Regions from separate parts of the Homo sapiens genome. Here region 1 is linked to region 2. The links are contacts of gene promoters, found by promoter capture Hi-C in human tissues and cell types (Jung and others, 2019). All regions are on one chromosome and are shown on one strand. Each heading gives the region's core, a stretch centred on a gene start or on the middle of the fragment in contact. The rest is flanking DNA. Distances are from core to core; before and after follow the strand shown. Region 1 has its middle 69 kb from the start of GEM. Region 2 holds the start of TMEM67 (transmembrane protein 67).

The links. Contacts are between HindIII fragments. The study calls those that stand out against the background at their distance.
Region 1: a contact is called between a fragment that was not itself captured here and the fragment with the promoter of TMEM67 in region 2, in 1 of the 25 tissues and cell types used here (mesenchymal stem cells).

What each region holds. Positions count from the first base shown.
Region 1 is chr8:94,327,845-94,335,620 of GRCh38, reverse strand. No RefSeq gene overlaps it. Among named protein-coding and RNA genes, the nearest start is that of GEM, 69 kb to the right of the region's middle. The HindIII fragment of the contact is 4,279 bases long and covers 1,759-6,037 here.
Region 2 is chr8:93,749,608-93,757,045 of GRCh38, reverse strand. TMEM67 (transmembrane protein 67) reads right to left here and starts at 2,152. Exons shown (of 28, transcript NM_153704.6): 1 at 1,909-2,152; 2 at 1,180-1,268. The coding sequence starts at 2,131. The HindIII fragment of the contact is 11,912 bases long and covers 1-7,438 here.

The DNA of each region.
Region 1 (7,776 bases), core at 2,649-5,148, 580 kb before region 2:
ACAGATTTAGTACAATTTTCTCCTATGATTCATAGCCTAGAAACAAACATTTCTCCTTTTTGATTTCCCAATGGTTTCTTAAGATAAATAATCCATGAAGGGACAAAATTTACATTTCTATAAATATAAAAAAGAAACTACCACTGGAAAAAAGAAGTTACTGTTTTTTTAGATGACTGTTGATTCCCAAAGCACGTGGGGTATGTCTTTTTGATTACCATGCTAATTAAGATAATTCTTAAATATTTTTATTTTAGATTGCAGCCTTATTATGGTTGCTATAAACAAAAGTTAATAACTCTTGCTGAAGAACTATTCATTCATTGCACTGGGGGTTTGAAATGTTGAATGTTTTTATAAGAAAATGAGCTAAATATAATGCATAGTTTGTACAAAATATAAATTTGCTTTTAAGAAGATTACACTGGGAGGGCGAGGTGGGTGGATCACCTGAGGTCAGGAGTTCGAGACCAGCCTGACCAACCGGTGAAATCCCATCTCTACTAAATACAAAAAATTAGCCGGGCATGGTGGCACAGTCCTGTAATCCAGCTACTTGGGAGGCTGAAGCAGGAGAATCACTTGAATCCAGTAGGTGGAGGTTGCCATGAGCCAAGATTGCGTCATTGCACTCTAGCCTGGGCAACAAGAGCGAAACTCTGTCTCAAAAAATAAAAAAATAAAAATAAATAAAGAAGATTACATGAACTCATTGTTTCTAACACTGTAAACTCTGGCTGGGCATGGTGGCTCACACCTGTAATCCCAGCACTTTGGGAGGCTGAGGTGGGAAGATCGCTTGAGGCCAAGTGTTTTAGACCAGCCTGGGAAACATAGTGAGAGCCCATCTCTACAAAAGTTAAAAAAAAAAAAAAAAAATAGCTGGGCCTGGTGGCATGCCTGTGTAGTCTTGGCTATGTAGGAGGCTGAGGTGAGAGGATAACGTGTGCCTAGGAGGTCAAGGCTGCAGCTATGATCCTGCCACTGCACTCCAGCCTGGGTGGACAGAGTAAGACCCTGCCTCAAGACAAACAATCAAATACTATAAACTCTGTTATTAAAGCTTTTTCTGGTATGAATTCCCTAAGTTTTGATCTATCTTAAACCAAATGCATTTTAATGTGTTCCTTTAGCCAACATTTATTTCATTTATTCAATAGATCTTCACTGATACTGTGAATTAGGCTTAGGCACTGTTTAAATGTTGAGGATACGATGAGGAACAAAGGTTGACAAGGTCCCTGATCTCATGGAGTTTGGGAGAAACAGACAATAAACATGCAAGTAAGATAACTGTAGGTAATATTAGACATTATAAGAGAATTAACATAGGGCATGAGAGAGAGTGAAGAAGGTGGACAGCATACAGGGGCACAGCTCCCTAATATGTGCTGAACACTGTACCAGGCCCTTGGGAAGAGGTGCCTGAGATCTGGGCTCTGGAAAAGACCAAATCCCATCTCTGCTCAGAGGCCAACTTACCATGAGCTAATGCTGCTTCAGCCTCAGGGCCTGGCTTATCATGAGCTAATGCTGCTTCAGGTTCATTTGCATGTTACATAATGTTCTTGATGGAAGCCAGGTGGCAACCAGGGAGTGTTTTCAATATAAATATTTTAGGGGAATTGTCCAAAGCCCTCTTAGAAGAAAGGGGCTTGCATATCTAAGGCTCAAGTAATTAGTTGTTTCTGTTCTCATTCTGAATATTCTCTTTCTTACCTAATTTTGTATATGTATACTTGTATACTTGAGATCTTTTTCTTTAAGAGAGCCTGCTTACCCCAACTTGTATAAGTTTCAAGCCCTGTGTAACCTGGTTTTGTTCTTGGCTTAGCCATTGTCTACCTGTGTGAGTCTAGGCAAGCTATTTAAACTCTTCATGCCTCAGTTTTCTCATTTTTAAAATGGAAATATTACCTAAATCATCAGATTGCATGAGCATTAACTGAAATTAAATAATATTTCAAATGTTATACCTAACACCTGGCACACAGTAGGTACTTCATAAGTGGTAGCTATTATTAATATATTATAATTATTAATATTATGATTATAAGCCCTCAAAAGTTTTATAATTCTGTTGGGGAAAAAAATCAACAGATGTAGATCCATGGGATACTAACACAGAACAGTCTCAAAAAACAGAACAAAACAAAAACAAAAAAACAACATCAACAGGATACACACAAATTCTTAATAAGTAGTTGCCAGTGCCTAGAGAGGGAGAAGAATGGGTGTAGGAATAAAGAGGATTTCCAGTAAACCTGTAACATTGTATTTCTAATTCAATCTGAAATAAATATGATAAATATTATAACATTATCCTTATACTTTAAAAAAATTAGATATTTCAATAAATGGTAGCTATTAATAATACATAGGGAGGTTTGATTAATAACCCAATAATCTGGTATGTTTTGTTTATAGGAACATTGTGCTTTTCTCATATGAAGCTTCCTCTGGGCATGGTAGCACAGTTCCTCTAATCAACAAAACTAGCAACCTCAGTGTCACAGTTCCAATATGTGATTGAATGTAACTTCATAAATGCCTAGTATGGTATTCAATGTTGGGTTTGGTGGAATAGCCAAAGCAAATATGCTCACAATATTAAACTCTTCCAAGATTTCCCTGTGTCATTGGAGAGTGGCACAAAGTAGCATAAATTGACTGGGGCTGTCCATGAAACTATTACAAATATGAAGAGAAAGGAGAAATCAATGTGTGCTGCAAACATCAATGAGAGCTTCATAGGACGTGTGATGTGAATTGGACTTTGGCGATGGGGTAGCTTTGGATAGGTGGGCCAGATGGCTTAGTATTCTAGATGTCAGAGGAGAAGAGAAATGTCTGGGAAGAATAAAAAACCATGTAAGGTTGGGTGGGAGGGAGACATGGAGGTCCTTAAGAAGAGCCTTAATGAAGTGTTGAAGAGTTATAAAAGCCTGTAAGCAATAACAATTTGAAATTTCATTTAAAAAAATTGGATTGGTATTGAAAACATATGTAAAATTTTGTCTCTGTCAGTAGTTCACTTCATATTCTAGTTGGCTAAACCTTTGGTTCTGATATGATTTGGATCTGTGTCCCCACCAAATCTCATGCTCAATTGTAATCCTCAGTGTTGGAGGTGGGGCCTGGTGGGAGGTGATTGGAGATCATGGGGGCAACTTCTCATGGTTTAACACCATCCCCCTTGGTGGTGTTGTCACAATAGTGAGTTCTTGTGAGATTTGGTTGTTTAAAAGTGTGTGACATCTCCCCCGTCTTTCTCTTGCTCCTCCTCTGGCCATGTAAGATGTGCTTGCTTCCCTTTCACCTTCTGCCATAAGTGAAAGTTTCCAGAAGCAGAGCAGATGCCAGCGTCATGCTTCCTGTACAGCCTGCGGTACTATGAGCCAATTAAACCTCCCAGTTTAATTAACTACCCAGTTTCAGGTATTCTTTATAGCAATGTGAGAATGGACTAATGCAGGTTCTAAAGCCACAAAGAAGAGAAAATATTTCTTTCACCTTGGCACTGAATCCTTGGGTCACAAGTATGAGAAGTGACTTGGTCCGTCATGACTTGCCCAAACAATTAAGACTAGGGCTGATTCATTAATGGTCTGTTTTATTAATAATGGTTATTCAGCTAACAGAAAGGGAATACTTCCCAGACAATAAGGATGTCTAGAAACCAGCTTTAATAGGGCGTGGGTAACCCTGAATATCAGGACAAGGACTGCCCATTGGAGTGGGGGTATCCACCATATTCTAGGCAATTGTAGACAATAGATACTGCACCTAAATACATGTCTGTATGGCTAGACAGGGGAATAAGAAGTTCCAATAGTGAAATGGAGGAAATTTTTAAAATATTAAACAAAAAGCATTCCACTAAGAAGAGGGTCTTATGTAACTACCCTAACCATTTAGGCAATTTGAGTTAATGTCCTACTGCCTAACACAGGCCTGGGCATCCTGTCATGATTTCACACCGCTGTAAAGAATGGACAAGCAGAGAGCAGCAGGATAGATAATTACAAACAACTTCCTGGCTGAGGGCCAAGGATCACTTTGCGAGGAGTCAAGGTCCAGAAAAGATCAACAGGTGAAGACAGCAGCAAATCAGATATCCAGCCAGGGACACACTGAGCTTTGCGTTACTGTTGGGGAAAACTGGTCTCTGTTAACTCAGTTTAGACTGTGCATTGTTCCACATTCGCTAATAAAAATGGGCGTTAGATATGTTTCACACATTTCACACATTGTAGAAATGTTAGCAGGATGCATGTGGTGATTTGATTGTTATTCTCTTGAGATTTAAAAAATTTCAATCGCCTCTACTTCTCTCCTCTCCTCTCCTCTCCTCTTCTCTCCTTTTCTTCTACCTTCTGTCTTTCCTCCCTCCCCCACTCTAATAAGTATAATAAAAACACTGGACCTTTAAAATTCATATATACTGCTTTTAAATGGGTAACTCTAAGTAACAAAGTTAAAATGTCATGATAATTTTTGGACATAAGTGTTAAAAGAAAAACTTTAGACAAATTTAATAGTTTAATTGGGCAAAGAACAATTCATGAACCAGGCAGCCCCCAGAACTAGAACAGGTTCAGAGAAACTCTGGGGCTGTCAAATGGTCATACACCATTTTTGGACAGAAAAAAGAAAGTGACGAGCCAGGTGGCTCACGCCTGTAATCCCAGCACTTTGGGAGGCCAGGGCGGGCAGATTACCTGAGGTCAGGAGTTCAAGACCAGCCTGGCCAACATGGTGAAACCTCGTCTCTACTAAAAATACAAAAATTAGCCAGGCGTGGTGGCACATGCCTGTAATCCCAGCTACTTGGGAGGCTGAGGCAGGAGAATCGTTTGAACCCTGGGAAGCGGAGGTTGCAGTGAGCCAAGATCGTGCCACTGCACTCCAGTGTGGTGACAGAGCGAGACTCTGTCTCAAAAAAAAAAAAAAACCAAAAAAACAAGAAAAAAGAAAGTGATGTATGAAAATGGAAGTGAGGTGCAGAAACAGCTGGCTTGGTTACACTTTGGCATTTGCTTATTTCAACATGGTTTGAAGAGTTGGCCACCTGTGATTGACTAAAGTCAAGCTGCTGTGATTGGCTGAGACACAGCTATTTGTTACAGAAGAATATTCCTAAATGAGGCTTTCAGTTTATTTACATACAAAGTTAGGTTGCAGTTTGTTACATAAGGACTCAAGCATGCAAGTACAGAGGCTTTGTCTCAGGCCAAGTTTAGTTTGATTTAACAGTTCTCTCCTTTTGGTCAACATCTCCATTTTGAGAGACTGACCCAAACTTTGGGCATTGATGCCACCCTCTGTCACTATCATAGGTGGACTTGTTTGGTCTCTGTGGAATTCACAAATCTTATTTGTTCATAGTATAAAATTCATAAGTTGCAATGTCACATCAGTTGAATAATTATGTTCTTGCTGAATTAATCAAAGTGAGAGCATTCAACACTCAATGAATGGCTGCATACAAAATTTTTAAGACTTGAGAAGATATAGCATACCAGCGGAACTAATATGATGACAATCAAGAAGATAATACCAAAAGACCAAAGCATACTTCTTAAGAGTCCTTATGAAATGAATCAAACCAAATCAAACAAGTCAAAGTTCAGGCAATAGAGGCAGCTCTACAGTATTTGCAACTAATTGATTATAGTCGTTGTTTGGGGTGTTATGGTGATTAAGGACCATAGTTTGCTGTAAAATGGCCTGATTTAAAGAGTGGTTGACTTTTGTTGTTAGCCTGGTAACACAAGTCATAATAACTTGGAGACCCACTAGAAGAAATATGAAGATTAGAAAATCTTGAGAAACCCAAGCTTATTATCCACCTTTAGAATGCCTGCAAACCAAATGTTAGTTGCTCTTGTAAACACATCCTATGTTTCTTTCTCTTGAAAAATTTCCTTAATGTATTTGATGGCAGTGTCTATGGAAACAGCAGTATTAGCCACCTTGTAAATTAAGCTTTCTGTACTAACAAAATCAGAGAGATGGGTACAGCATACATTTTTATTCAGTACCAATCATAAGCCCCAAATTGAAGGAAAAAGGAGATTTAAAGCTTTATGATATTTTATTGCGTGGTGTTTATTGAACATGTATGTTATTATTCACCTTTTAGAGAGTGGCTTCTACATGTCTGAAGCCCTGGGAGATCTGATTGACCACAAACTTGAAGATTTTCTCCAATTTATAGATTAGCTTCAAATTCCATACAATCAGTACTCCACTACCACCAAGAGTGAGCCCCCAGATACCCCACTGGAATCTTTCCTCAGTGGAAACTAGCTTAACTTTGTCTGTTTGAAGGTTGATGATAATTTTGGTTATTGACCATTTTAGCCTCTGATTATAGGAGCTATTATGGAGACTTCCAGGGGAATGAATTTGACAGGCAGGAGTGAGCTACGCCAAATAGCAAGATCCAAACAAGCAAGGAGACAGAACAGAACAAGCAGATTTTCTGAAGATCTGATATAGGCCTTTGGGGGTTGGAAAGAGGGCCACCTAATTGTGTTTGAGCAGAGGTCAGTCAAATTTGATAGCTTCCAACAAGGTCCAGTGGAAAATTTACTTTTTGGTGGCCCCTTTATAACATACTGTAAGGGAATATAATCACATTTAATGAAAAAAGATTCTATTGAATTTAATCCAGTGACATTATACAATTACTTGTACCCACATAAGTAATTCCAAGGTCTTGAGTGCATGATGTCTGGAAGCACAGTATATCTTTTGCACGCACCACTCAGATAGGTTTTCTACATTTGGTAACCATCAGGTTAATTGGAAAGGTTAGAGTGTTGGTTCTAGTGAGTATAGAAAGCAAGTAACAGTGATGTTTAGAACAGCAAAGATAGCTTTCAGCTATCTTCCTGTGGAATTTCAGCATTACTCTCATTGGGAAGATGGAGAGGTATTGGCACTGATGGAAATGTTTCCTGTTTTTTGTTGTTGTTGTTGTTTGTTTGTTTTGATATTAGCCCACAAACCCAATGATTGCTCTGTATTTTGTACTATAGCATAAGCTATAGCTAAAGCCATTCACTGATTATGGCTCCATGGATTTTCCTGTAAGGAAAAGGAAAGGATTAGGACAGAAGGAAATGAGAAAGAAAAGAAGAAAAGGATAAGCTTTTCTAATCACAGAGAAGTGTTGATCCATAATCTTGGGAAAGCTGTCCACATTGAGGATACTATTTGCTTCTGGAAAATTTTTCTGGCCAGCTTTACCTTAAATTTTCCAATAGACATACAGTTCCAAAAGTCTGAAGGTACCTTTTTGAGTTGTGAGATGTGGTTCCAAAGTTTGAAGCCTTGAAGTCTTATTTCAAGTAAGTACTTCAAGTAAGTAGTGAGAATAACTTGGTATAACCCCTTCCAATGGGGTTCAAAGGCAGTCTTCTTCTGATGTGGTTTCCGGAAGACCCAATCTCTGGTTTCTAGACCATAAAAAGTTTGATTGTCCTTAGTCAGTGGATCACAGAAAACTTCCTTTACCTGATGAAAATACACTCTGGCATAATGCATTAGAGCCTTGCAGTATTTAGTCATAGCAGGAGATGCATCAAGTTCTATTATTAGGATCATAGGCCTTCCAGTGACTATTTCAAAAGGGGTCAACTTATGTTTTCCAGTGAGAGTAGGTCTCATTGCCATTAAAGCCAATGTTACCTTTGGCCAAGGCAGCCCAATTGATTCTGTTAATTTTGCCGGTTTCAGGTTTAAGATGCCATTTGTTCTTTCAATCTT
Region 2 (7,438 bases), core at 903-3,402:
CTGGAGTGCAATGGTGCAATCTTGGCTTACTGCAACCTCTGCCTCCTGAGTTCAAGCGATTCTCTTGCCTCAGCCTCCCAAGCAGCTGGGACTACAGGCACGCGCCACCACAGCCAGCTCATTTTTGTATTTTTAGTAGAGATGGGGTTTCACCATATTGGCCAGGCTGGTCTCAAACTCCTGAGCTCATGATCCACCAGGCTCAGCCTCCCAAACTGCTGGGATTACAGGCATGAGCCACTGTGCCTGGCCTATACAGGACAATTTAAAAATTACAATAACTTAAACAATGTCACTGAAAAAGAAATCTGCTGCGAGACCACTTTTTATTAGCAGCTTTTTATCATGGGTAATTCAGCTAGGATCAATATTTGCAAAGATATAAAATAAATGGTAATCTATTATAATCTATTATAAAGATATAAAATAAATGGTAATATAAAAAGTGGTAATCAGACTTACAAGTAATACAGATAGCTATAAATTGGGACAATTGATAACTTCACATTAAATTCCCAGAATTAATATTTTTTATATGACAATGAGAAGAAACATTACTGTAAATGTCACAACTGTTACACAGACTTTTAATTATCCAACATGATTGAAAAATATATTTATGTTGAGAATTATATATAGTAACTATTTACTAATTTTTTTTAAATTACGATACAATGAAATTACTAACAAAACAGAAACAGACATTATTTAATCTATTAATGCAATTGGTATTTCATGAAATAATTACACCTTAGATATCATTATGAACATCAATAATCATATAAACTGTTGACATGGTAGGTCTAAGACAACTCCACTTGCATCAGTCAAAAGAATATACACATCCCAAATTGCACACATCCCAGACTGCTCTATATATGCCTTATTCATCTAATTTTCTTCATAACCGAGTTATTCTACGAGTAAAAACAAAAACTTAAATTTTTACAGCTTTGTGGTTTTTGGATTTCAGATTTTAAAAGAAATACATTTCTGTTTTCTCCAAGTTTGCATGAAATTTCGCTGATCTCCCAAAACTTACTCTAGTAAAAATAAAATTAGCATAGTAATTTTAAAGTCTGTGGGGAAACATTAAACATTAAATTATATTTTGAAAAATAAAGATATTTAACTTACTACTTTTTACAGGTAAGTTATTTTAAAATAAATTATGCGCACCATGTTTTCTGGGCACTTTTTACAAATAATAGCAGGTCCTCCATTATTAGAGATCATCTGAAATCCTGGTAGACATACACATGAAGTTCCTAAAAAAAAAAAAAAAAAAAAAAAAGCCAATTTTATCCTTGATAAATAAAAATAAAGTTCCCAGATAGTGAAACTTTTAATAAGTCTGAAGATCTTGAGAAGCAGTATAGTGATTAACAGCAGGATTCTGGAGGCAGTACTGCCTGGGTTCAAATCCAGAAATACACTTCTTGAGTTCCAATCGTAGTAATCCTACTCAGTTGCATGACCTTGAACAAGTTACTAAACTCTCTGCCTTGGCTTCCTCTACAATAAAATGGAGAAAAAAAATTGGTACCTACCTCACAGGGTTAGTATGAGTACAAAATTAGTTATTATACGTAGAGGTCTTACACTGGCACACAGCTGGTATTATGCTGCTACCATTTTAAGTGCAAGTATAACTAAACTATTAAACTACTTAACTGCTGCTGGAAATTTTACATTTCTACGTCACTAAACAATATACATGTATTCGGGCCAGGCGCGGTGGCTCACGCCTGTAATCCCAGCACTTTGGGAGGCGGAGGCGGGTGGATCACCTGAGGTCAGAAGTTCGAGACTAGCCTGATCAACATGGTGAAACTCCATTTACGGGGACTAGGGGCCGACCAAGGCGGGAGTGTTACTTTTGCCAGGGCCCACCGCAAACCGTCTTACCTCGGGCATCTTGCCTCTGGTTAGCTCCACAAGGAACACACGAGAGGGCGGAGATATCAAAGTACTGGTTGTTGTCGCACTTCTCCGGCTGCTGGAAAGGGAAAGAGAAGGTCTGGGCCTGTAAGAAGCGAGGGAGGAACAACAGAAGGAACGCGGTCACGGCCCGGGCGGATAAGAGGGACCAAACCGCCATTGCCACCCCAGCCCCACCGCGCGTCGCCATGGTACCGACGCTGGAAGCCTCACAGCCTCCAGCCCCCCATCAGCCTCTGCGGCGGCTTCGCTGAGCTGATTGGACAACCCAAGTCCGGGTACCGGAAGTCACTGCTCGTGTTGCTTGGTTGCTAGGTTACCAACCCTGCGCGAAGTTGGCAGGTCCAGTAAAGAATGGGTTAGAGACCGGTTAACCCTGGAGCCCAGCGATATTTTCAAACGTGTATAGAGTTCCTCTACTTACGATAGGGCTGCCCCCTCCCCGCAATAAACCCATCGTAAGTTGAAAATATCATAATTTGTCGAGTTATAGTTACATCAGAATTTATTCAGACTAGGTAATTTTCACGTTAAAGGAAACATGACTTGTAGTTTAACAATTTGATGTCAAAAAACCCCACTGACTTAAAACCCAGTGAAGGATTACTATAGCTCAAAGACTGAAAAAATAAAAAAACTTTCCTGCCAGGTTTGAGCATAGGAAATCATGTATGCGAGACAAAGTACGAAACGGAAGAAACCATGTTTGCTCATTCTGTTGCCAGCGAAATTTCACAAAGCCCCTGACTCAGTGACTGAACGCAGTCCTCCAGAAGAATGCCCTGAAGACAATAAGTAGGATAGAGCACAAGTTTTCACATCTGTTGCTTGAATCACTTCATTTTTTAAAAAGATACAGTCAGCGATCCTAGCTCTTGCCTCTTCCTGTACGTAAGATAACGTGTGACAGGATTAATGATTATGCCTCTGTAATCTATAACCAGATGTAGTCTCCAAACAAAACTTTGATGAGATTTTGCTCCAACGTAACTTCTGAGCACGTTTAATGTAACTTTTGAGCACATGCAGAACTCCATCCCTTGATGTAGAAACTGGGGGCAGAACAGCTGCTTTGGACCAGTATAACATAAACTCTTTGAAAGACTCTCCAGGGTTGCATTCCTCAGTAAGACTCCGAATAAAACTAACTTTGAGTCTTTAAAAGCCTGATTTTTTTCTTTAGTTGACATGTATATAAAATGAGATCACCTTTACACCTTTTGTGAATAAAGGAATCTAAGCCTGGTGCTGTGGCTCACACCTCTAATCCTAACATTTTGGGAGGCCACAGTGGAAGGATTGTCTGAGCCCAGGAATTCAAGACCAGCCTGGGCAACATAGTGAGACTCCACCTCTACAAATAAAATTTATTTTAATTAGCTGGGTGGGTGGCACATGCCTATGGTCCCGGTTGCTTGGAAGGCTGAGGCGGGAGAACCACTTAAGCCCAGGAGGTCAATGAGCCCAAAGGCTGCAATAAGCTATGATCGTGCCACTGCACTCCAGCCTGGATGTCAGAGACCCTATATAAAAAAAAAAAAAAATCCTGGACAAAAATATGGAAACGTTTAGAGTTAGAGACCACTTGCGAGGCTAAGGTAGAAATCTAGAGTCTAAATTGGAGCCATGGAGGAAGGGAGAGGCAGAAGAGGATGAATAAAGGAGCTATTCAGGAAGAAGAATTATAAGAATTTTATTATTTGGACATAGGAAGTAAACAAACAGAATCAAGGATAACTTCCAGGTTTCTGATTTGGGTGGCTGGGTAGACGGTTGTGATATTAAAGGAAGATACCTGTGGTAGATAGCTTCTAAGCGAAAACTTATTGGATAAAGAAAATTTTAAGGTAGAAATGAAAGTTATAGGAATATTTAACATGGTGGGAGCTAGAGGTATGGATAATAATAGAAATAATAGGTATTAATAGCTTGTTTTTGTTATCAAGCAAATGAGCTCTCTATCCAATGCATGCACAGAAGCCAATACTATGTGGCACAAGCTTTTGAGGAAAAAAAGTCTTTATTTGCACAACTGGTCAGCAAGGAGATAGGAGTGCATTCAAATCTGTTTCCCTGATTTAGAGTCTGGGGTAAACTTATGGGCTTGGAAAGCCAAGGGAAGAATTTAGGAATGTGTCTTGGCAGGCAGAATGGAGGACTTGAAATTTGACCATTTAGAAAAAGGTACGTAGAGGCCGATTTTAGGCCTGATCCTCCAGGCAAATGGACCCAACACTTTTGAAAGAGTTCCAAGTTCAGGTTCCAGTCATGTCCCGGTCTTGGTTCCAAGGAAAGGATTCACTGGTTTTGGGTGTTGTTAGAGGTCCAGGCTTTTTCTATTGCACATGACTGGGCTACATGACTTTCAGTTTTTGGCTCTGTTACATCTAAAAGGTAACACGACATTTTGTTATCAACAGAGTAGGCTCAGTTTGGGCTAGTCCCATGGAGACACTTTTAATGTGTCCGGCATTGCAATATCTCATTTGATCCTAAATTGGGACTGTTATCATCACCTTTAATTTACAGATGAAATAACCAAGGCTTAGAAAGTATAAGTGACTTTCTAAGGTCACACTTAATTCATGGTTCTAACCCTGGTAATTTGACACCAGAGCCCATACTTTTCTTCGGGTTTTTGTTGTTGTTGTTGTTGTTTTAAACTTTAATTTAGGTTCAGAGGTACATGTGCAGGTTTGTTATATAGGTAAATTGAGTGTCTCGGGGGTTTGGGGATCAGATTATTTCCTTACCCATGTGATAAGCATAGAACCCAATAGGTAGTTTTTTGATCCATACTCTCCTTTCACCCTCCACCCTCAAGTAGTACCCAGTATCTATTGTTCCCTTCTTTGTGTCCACCTGTACACAATGTTAGCTCCAACTAATAAGTGAGAACACACAGTATTTTATTTCTTTCCTGTGTTAGTTTGAGATAGGAGGTTGGCAGGACTGATTTCACAGGATAAGATCATAAAGACCTGGCTGATAAAACAGGATAGGTAAAGAAGAGGACTGAAACCTGCTAAAACCAAGATGGTGACCAAAGTGACCTCTGGCCATCCTCACTGCTCATTATATGCTAATTACAATGGATTAACATGCTAAAAGACACTCCCACCAGCACCTTGACAGTTTGCCCCTTGCCATGCCCACTTAGAGAAGTTACCCTACATGGTCTAACAAGGGAGGACGCTCCGTTCCAGGAATTCCCCACCTTTTTCCTGGAAAACTCATGAATAATCCACCCCTTGTTTAGTATATGATCAAGGAATAACCATAAATATACTCAGTCTAGCAGTCCTTGCCATTGCTCTGCCTATGAAGTAGCCACTCTTTATTCCTTTACTTTCTTAACAAACTTGCTTTCACTTTATTCTGTCAGATTGCTCTTGAATTCCTTCCTGCATGAAGCTGAGAACCCACATGGCCACTCAGGCTGAACCCTGATTTTGAGGTTTTCTCTGTGACAAGTTTGCTTTGGATAATGCAGAGCCCACACTCTTAAGCCCTGCTTTTTATTGTTGCCTTTGAATCTCTGGATGTGCTTTTCTGGGCAGGAATAAAGAAAAGCTAAAGGCAAGTAAGTTCAAGATGAGATTAATGAATTAAAATATTACAAAGAAGGTGAAAAACAGAAGTGGAGGTTGTGGTGAGAAAGGGGAATTAGTGAGGTTCAGATCTTACATCTGGGGCACTTTGTGTGGTGAACCCTGTGTTCATTCCCAATCTCCAGACACTTAGTGCCCTTTTGATTTGTTAATCTTTTGTGTGTAACTTGTTTTTTACTTTCTTGAAGTCTTCAGGATGTTCCTCTCTGTGCCCCACCTTCTCATTTTTCTTAATTTTACAGTGATGTGTCTGGGCATGTTTCATTGTCATCTTTTGTGTGGAACACCTGTTGTAACTTTGCAATTCAGCAAAGAAACTCATGTCCTTTAACACTGGGAAATGATCTCTTCTACTAATTATTCCTTTGAAGACTTTCTCTCCGTTTTTTTTTTCTTCTGGACACCCTATTTTTCAGATACTAGACTTCCTGGACTGTTCCTCTAATTTTCTCAGATTATGTTTTCATTTTTCTTTTCTTTTTTCTTTTTTTTTTTTTTTGAGACGGAGTCTCGCTCTGTCGCCCAGGCTGGAGTACAGTGGCGGGAGGCGGGATCTCCGCTCACTGCAAGCTCCGCCTCCCGGGTTCACGCCATTATCCTGCTTCAGCCTCCGGAGTAGCTGGGACTACAGGAGCCCGCCACCTCGCCCGGCTAATTTTTTGTGTTTTTAGTAGAGACGGGGTTTCACCGTATTAGCCAGGATGGTGTCAATCTTCTGACTTCGTGATCTGCCCGCCTCGGCCTCCCAAAGTGCTAGGATTACAGGCGTGAGCCACCGCGCCCGGCGTGTGTGTGTGTGTGTGTGTGTGTGTGTGTGTGTCGGAGTTTTTTTGCTCTTGTTGCCCAGGCTGGAGTGCAATGGCACGATCTCTGCTCACTGCAACCTCCACCTCCTGGGTTCAAGTGATTCTCCTGCCTCAGCCTCCCGAGTAGCTGGGATTACAGGCATGTGCCACCACGCAGGGCTAATTTTGTTATTTTTAGTGGAGTCGGAGTTTCTCCATGTTGGTCAGGCTGGTCTCAAACTCCCGACCTCTGGTGATCCACCCATCTCGGCCTACCAAAGTGCAAGGATTACAAGCGTGAGCCACCGCGCCCAGGCTTCATTTTTCATTTTGTTTTGTTTGGTTCTACTTTCTGGAAGATTTTCCTGCGCGTATCTGTCAAACATTGAATTGAACTTTTCATTTCTTCTATTATAAATTTAATTTCTAAGAGCTCTCTTTTGTTTTCTGGCTATAGCTTAATTATGGCATTCTTGAATTCTTCCATGCTGCAATATCTTATTTCCTAGAATACATTACTAGTGGTGTTTTAAAGTTTCCCTCTGTTGCATAATCTGTTTCTTCAAAGTTATGTTTTGTATAAAAGGCTTTCCTCCTAAATCTTGGGACCTTTTGCCATTTACATACATACAAAAGTGGGTGGCCAGGCGCGGTGGCTCACGCCTGTAATCCAGCACTTTGGCAGGCCAAAGCAGGTGGATCACCTGAGGTCAGGAGTTCGAGACCAGCCTGACCTAAACGGTGAAACCCCGTCTCTACTAAAAATACAAAAATTAGCTGGGCGTGGTGGCCATGCCTGTAATCCCAGCTTCTCAGGAGGCTGAGGCAGGAGAATTGCTGGAACCCAGGAGGTGGAGGTTGCAGTGATCCCAGACTACGACATTACACTCCAGAATGGGCAACAAGAGCGGAACTTTGTCTCAAAAAAAAAAAAAAAGTCGGCACACTGACAAGCTAATTAGAAGCTCTACAAAGATAGGAAGGGCTTGTTGACTGGGCTACAATGTGTGGAGTGATTTGCCTGGGTTGTTTCTTAGGGCAATCCCTCATTCTTCCTGTCCCCTTTCCCTATCCTACTGTGCTGATCAAATTTCTCAGAAA